Linked DNA regions of Homo sapiens: region 1 is linked to region 2. The links are contacts of gene promoters, found by promoter capture Hi-C in blood cells and fetal thymus (Javierre and others, 2016). All regions are on one chromosome and are shown on one strand. Each heading gives the region's core, a stretch centred on a gene start or on the middle of the fragment in contact. The rest is flanking DNA. Distances are from core to core; before and after follow the strand shown.

The links. Contacts are between HindIII fragments. The CHiCAGO score rates a contact against its expected background, and 5 or more counts as called.
Region 1: a contact is called between a fragment that was not itself captured here and the fragment with the promoter of ZNF605 in region 2, in 1 of 17 cell types (megakaryocytes). The highest score is 6.3, in megakaryocytes.

What each region holds. Positions count from the first base shown.
Region 1 is chr12:133,055,150-133,058,158 of GRCh38, reverse strand. ZNF84 (zinc finger protein 84) reads right to left here. Exons shown (of 5, transcript NM_001289971.2): 5 at 1-1,205. Among named protein-coding and RNA genes, the nearest start is that of ZNF84, 19 kb to the right of the region's middle. The HindIII fragment of the contact is 343 bases long and covers 1,155-1,497 here.
Region 2 is chr12:132,954,937-132,958,227 of GRCh38, reverse strand. ZNF605 (zinc finger protein 605) reads left to right here and starts at 1,922. Exons shown (of 5, transcript NM_183238.4): 1 at 1,922-1,985. LOC124903064 (a long non-coding RNA gene) reads right to left here and starts at 1,679. Exons shown (of 2, transcript XR_007063552.1): 1 at 1,498-1,679. RefSeq lists enhancers at 1,712-1,791, 1,545-2,373, 2,651-2,945, 2,374-3,204 and a silencer at 1,952-2,291. The HindIII fragment of the contact is 12,358 bases long and covers 1-2,831 here.

The DNA of each region.
Region 1 (3,009 bases), core at 77-2,576, 100 kb before region 2:
ATGAGTTCTCTGATGTCTAACGAGCTGTGATTTCCTGCTGAAGGCTTTCCCACATTTACTGCATATAAAGGGTTTTTCTCCTGTGTGTGTCATCTGATGTGATATGAGATGTGACTTCTGGGAGAAGGCCTTCCCACACTGAATGCATCCATGAGGTTTCTCTCCTGTATGTGTTCTCTGATGATTAATGAGACTCGACCTCTCTCTAAATGCTTTCCTACACTCGCTGCATTCATAGGGTTTCTCTCCAGTATGAATTGTCTGATGTCTAATAAGCTCTGACTTCTCAAAGAATGCTTTTCTACAATCACTACATCCAAAGGGTTTTGTTCCTGTGTGAGTTCTGTGATGTGTAACGAGTTGTGACTTCCTGCTGAAGGCTTTCCCACATTCCCTGCATTCAAAAGGCTTCTCACCGGTATGAATTCTCTGATGGTTAATGAGATTGGACTTTTCACTAAAGGCCCTCCCACATTCATTGCATCCATAGGGTTTCTCTCCTGTGTGTGTTCTCCAATGCGATATGAGATGTGACTTCCGGGAGAAGGCTTTCCCACATTCACCACACTCATAAGGTTTCTCTCCTGTATGTGTCCGCTGATGGGATGTGAGCTGTGACTTTTGGGAGAAGGCTTTCCCACACTGGCTACAATTATAAGGTTTTTCTCCTGTATGAGTTCTGTGATGTGTAATAAACTGAGACTTCTGGGGAAAGGTTTTGCCACAATTACCACAGCCAAAGGCTATGTCTCTTATATGTCTGCTCTGATGTTTAATGAGACTTGGTTTCTTACTGAAGCGCTTCCTACATTCACTGCATTCATAGAGTTTCTCCCCTAAACGATTTCTATGATATATGATAATCTGTGACTTTTTATAGCTCTCTTTATATTTATCACAGTCATAGTATTTTAACCAGGTATCAGTATCCTCAGGCTTGGAATGGAGAAAAAAATTATCAAACACATTAAAGTCATCTGATTCTGCTTTTCCATAATCTCCTTTTGGAATAAGCAAATCTAAATGATGTTTTAAAATCAATCCATCTAAGTCACCTTCACTGTTTGATTTCCTTAAAGGAACAAAGTTCATGTTCAGATTGAAATTTTTTCCAAATGCATCACATTCATGACCTCTTTTTATAATTTTAAGCTTGTCTTGGTTATCCTGGTGCCACATCATGTTACCATCTACTTTCCAGACTTCTATAAAGGAAACAAAAACAATCTGTTTGGTTGTGCTTTCTAAAAACAAAACAAAACAAAACAAAACTAGAAATGCTATGTTGAGGGGTTGGCTGCTTTTAAGGCTTAGTTTCCGAGTCTGAAATAAGTCCCAAGTATAATAACTATCTTCTAGGTATTGCAAGGAAATGCTAAAAACAGAAACAGGAAACTGACTGGAGATTAAGTCATCTTTGGTTGTTGACAAATATGTTTATTAAATGGGGAATATGAAAAACACATGAAAAGCAAAGAAAAAAGGTTAGAAGAAGCTTTGACCCAATGTTTTGAGTAATTAATTCACTCAATACTTTCTGAGTATACACTATGCCCAGGTAGTGTGTAAGGTACTAGAGACACAAGAGAAAAAATAAGTTCCTGTAGGCCAGGAGCGGTGGCTCACACCTGTAATCCCAGCACTTTGGGAGGCCGAGGCAGGCAGATCATGAGGTTGGGAGATCGAGACCATCCTGTCTAACATGGTGAAACCCCGTCTCTACTAAAAATACAAAAAATTAGCCGGGTGTGGTGGTGGGCGCCTGTAGTCCCAGCTACTCAGGAGGCTGAGGCAGGAGAACGGTGTGAACCCAGGAGGCGGAGATTGCAGTGAGCCGAGATCACGCCACTGCACTCCAGCCTGGGTAACAGAGCAAGACTCCATCTCAAAAAAATAAAAATAAAAAATAAAAAAATAAGTTCCTGTCATTATAAAATTTATATTGTAATGGAAAAGATAATATTTTTAAAACAACAAACTATACACTGTAGTAAATACTAAGAAGAAAATGAAAATATTTGAAAGAATGATTAGTCATTTCAAGCTTAAACAATGAGAAATATTTTGTGTATTGTTTCTTATTCTAAAGTTTTATTTAAACTTGCCATATGCATCTTCACATTACTATTAAGAAAGCCACTTAGATCCTCCCACCTTAACTGCCTGAGTAGTTGGGACAACAGGCATGCACCACCATGCCCAGATAATTTTTTTTTAATATTTTGTAAAGATGGGGATTCCCTATATTGTCCAGAATGGTCTTGAACTCCTGGCTTTATGCAGTCTTTCCACCTCAGCCTCCCAAAGTTCTGGGTTACAGGTGTGAGCCACTGCGCCGGGCCAATTTTGGTTTTTCATGGAGGACTTTTAGCAGGTCTCAAAAGTTTTCTTCTAATAGTTTTCTTGGTGTTCTATCATTCATAGGTGTTGAATTTATCAAACTTTTTCTATTTCAATTATTACATTTTTACTTTGTTCAAGTAATATTGTATCATATTAAACAAACATTGCATTGTGAAAAATACCCTGCTTAGTCATGGTATGTAATCATTCTTATACCTTTTTGTATTCTTTTTTTAAATATTTCTGAGAATTTCTGTGTCTAAATTTAAATAGGATGTTGTTTCATAGTCATCTTGTGATTCTTTTGTCTCCTTTGGGTATTATGGTATTACTGGCTAACAGATGAATTAAGAAATATTACCTCTTCTACTGCTTGAAGTTTTTGTGAGAAATTGATGTTTTTCATTAAGTGTTGATGAAATGTACAACTTAAGCAGTTTATAACAACTATTCTATCTAAAAAGATTTAATTTTTTTGTTATGTGGATATAAGTATATTCTATTATATATATAATGAAACAATTCATAGGATGTTTTTTGAGTTTACTTTTGTAATCCATCTCTATCAGTATTTTCTATTTCACAGTATGTCATGAACAATTATTCTAGGCACTTGACATGGAATAATTTGAACAAATAGAGAATGAGTCCTATACTACAATCAAT
Region 2 (3,291 bases), core at 673-3,172:
CTGCCTCCTGGGTTCAAGCAATTCTCATGCCTCCACCTCCTGAGTAGGTGGGATTACAGGTATGAGCCATTACAGGCATGAGCCACCACACCTGGCTAATTTTTATATTTTTAGTACAGATGGGGTTTCACCATGTTGGTCAGGCTGGTCTCGAACTCCTGACCTCAGGTGATCCGCCCGCCTTAGCCTCCCAAAGTGCTGGGATTACAGGTGTGAGCCACCGCGCCTGGCCTGGCCAAAAAATATTTTTAAGAGAAGGTGTCTCCCTCTGTGGCCCAGGCTGGAGTGCAGTGTTGCCATCATAGCTCACTGCAGCCTCAACCTCCCAGGCTCAGGCAATCCTCCTGCCTCAGCCTCCAGTAGTTGGGACTACAGGGACAAGCCACTGCTTTATATATCCATAAATATATTTTATTTCCCTGTAATGTCCTCATCTCATTTATTTTTCCTTTTTTTTTTCTTGAGATGAGGTCTCACTCTGTTGCCAGGCTAGAGTGCAGCGGCATGATGGCTCACCGCAACCCCCGCCTCCCGAGTTCAAGTGATTCTCCTGCCTCAGCCTCCCGAGTAGATGGGATTACAGGCGCCCACCACCACGCCCAGCTAATGTTCTGTATTTTTAGTAGAGACGGGGTTTCACCGTGTTGGCCAGGATGGTCTCAATCTCCTGACCTGGTGATCCGCCCACCTCAGCCTCCCAAAGTGCTGGGATTACAGCCGTGAGCCACCGCGCCCAACCCTATCATCTATTTTCATTCCTTTTGTCAATACTGCTGGATTGGATGTACTAAATGTAAGGTCCTCTGAGCTGGCCGCACCATGGTCAAGCCATCGTGACATTCCCCCACCCTTGTGATAATGTACTTTGTAATATTCCCGGTCCTTGTGAATGTACTTTGTAACATTCCTCTCCGCCCTTGTGACAATACACCCTCCCCGCCCTTGTGAATGTACTTTGTAACATCCTCCCCTGCCCGCAAAAAATTGCTGCTGAGGCCGGGCGCGGTGGCTCACGCCCGTAATCCCAGCACTTTGGGAGGCCGAGGAGGGCGGATCACGAGGTCAGGAGATCAAGACCATCCTGGCTAACACAGTGAAACCCCGTCTCTACTAAAAATACAAAAAAATTAGCCGGGCGTGGTGGCGGGTGCCTGTAGTCCCAGCTACTCAGGAGGATGAGGCAGGAGAATGGCGTGAACCCGGGAGGCGGAGCTTGCAGTGAGCCGAGATCGCGCCACTGCACTCCAGCCTCGGCGACAGAGTGAGACTCTGTCTCAAAAAAAAAAAAAAAAAAAAAAATTGCTGCTGACTCCACCGCCTATCCTATCCCAAAGCTATAAGAACCAATGACAAGCCCACCACCCTCCGCTGACTCCTTTCTCAGACTCAGCCCACTTGCACCCAAGTGAATAAACAGGCGTGTTGCTCACACTTAGCCTGCTCAGGTGGTCTCCTATACGGACGCACGTAACACTAACATTTACCGATATTACTTACAGCTACGATGAAAAATGGAAAAGCAGCCGGACGCAGTGACTCATGCCTGTAATTCCAGCATTTTGGGAGGCTGGGGCAGGAGGATCATTTGAACCCAGGAGTCGGAGACCAGCCTGAGGCTGCAATGAGCGTTCATGGCACCACTGCACTCCCCACTGGGTGACAGAGCGAGACCCTGCCTCCAAAAAAAAAAAAAAAAAAAACAAGGAAAAGATGCAGACGCTTCCTCCTGGAGGCGCCTTTAGGTTCTCTCACAGACATGTTGGGCCAGCAGTGCTGGCTCCATCCTAGATTTCTTCCAGTCCTCCCCAGTTAGCCGCCAAGGGGCTTTTCCAACCGGAAACCTCCAATCCGCGACCCCGGCGGGTGCACCGCCGAGCCCCCCGGGAAGTGTAGTTCCAGCGCGAGCGGGACGCTGGGAAATGTAGTTCTGCGCGTTCACGTCCCCGATCGGGCCGTGTCCGCCGCGGCCCTGCGAGGTCCGAGGGGTAAGGGAGCGTGCAGCGGGGGCGGGACCACGAGGCGGCGGGGCTGGGGGCGGCCTCTGTGTCTGCGCCGGGGATCGCGGTGACCCCGCTGCGGACCGGCTCGCGGTGACCCCAGCGCGAACGAGCTGGCTGCCGGCTGGGGCGAGAAAGGCCTGCGGACCGGCCTGGGCGCATGCGCGGAAGGCGGGCCTCAGGCGGGGGCTCTGGGGGCGCGCGGGGGTGGGAGGCAGAGGGTGGGGTGGGGGCTGTAGGGCGGGCGGCGGCGGGGCGCTGAATGTGGGTGTCGGGGGAGATTTGGGGTCAGCTGGGCGATTCACTGGGGGCCTATGGAGGTCGCTGTAGACTTGGGGTGCAGCACGGGCGGGGCAAGGGGACGCGAGGTTGCCCTTGGCCCCAGGGGAGAGGGGCCCCTGGGAGGCCGTGTGGAGGATTTGTCTGCAGCGATTAGGACTCTGCTGATGAATGATTTGGATGCCTTTGGGTGAGCATTGGAGGCCAGCGGGGTGAATGATGAGGCTTCTGCGGGGGCCTGCGTTGGAGGGCTTAGGGGCTTGCTTGTGTGGGTTCCATTCACTGGAAAGCCTGCCGGCTGTGACAGTGTTGGATTTCACCAGAGCCCTGTGCTCCTGGAAAACAGCGAAGGTTGAGGAATTTCCCACCCTTTTGGGTTCCAGCAAATGGCTCACTGCAAAGATCTCCCGTTCCCTATATGACTTTGGTCAGCCTCCAGGATGCCCCTTGTTCACACAGACCTGCCACGTTGCCGTCGCTTGCCTCATCGGTGACTGGCTGAACTCCACCGAGCGGTCGGAGCAAAATGCTCCTTAAGCAAACTTTAGCTAAGCTTCTTTCCTTTCCCCATTTTCTTGAGCTTTGGCCCATCCCCAGCCTGAGCCAACACGCAGCCTCGCCTGAGAACAGGCTGGCTCAGGGTCAAGCTTTCCCCGCTCTGCTGTCTGGTCGCCCGCACTTCCACCTCGCTTGGCCAGGCCTGGTCTTTGCTAACCTTGTTCACACCTCTCTGTGAAAGAAAAACCCTTTTTGCCTTGCAGAGATGCACGTGAGTCTCGTGGCTTCACGGTTCTTCCCAGAAGCCCGTTCTCCTTCCCCTTCCCAACCCTCTTCCGCGTCTTTTTTTCCCCACTTCCAATAACCCTTTGGAACCGTCTTTCTTTGCTCTGTCCAGTTGTATGTTTTATTTGACAGCTGAATAACAGTGGTTGCTCTTTCAACCCCTGTCTCCAATAGCGGAGGCGAGTATGGGGTGGCCTATGCTGGCGAGTGGCTGGGGTTTGTTTCTGTGCTT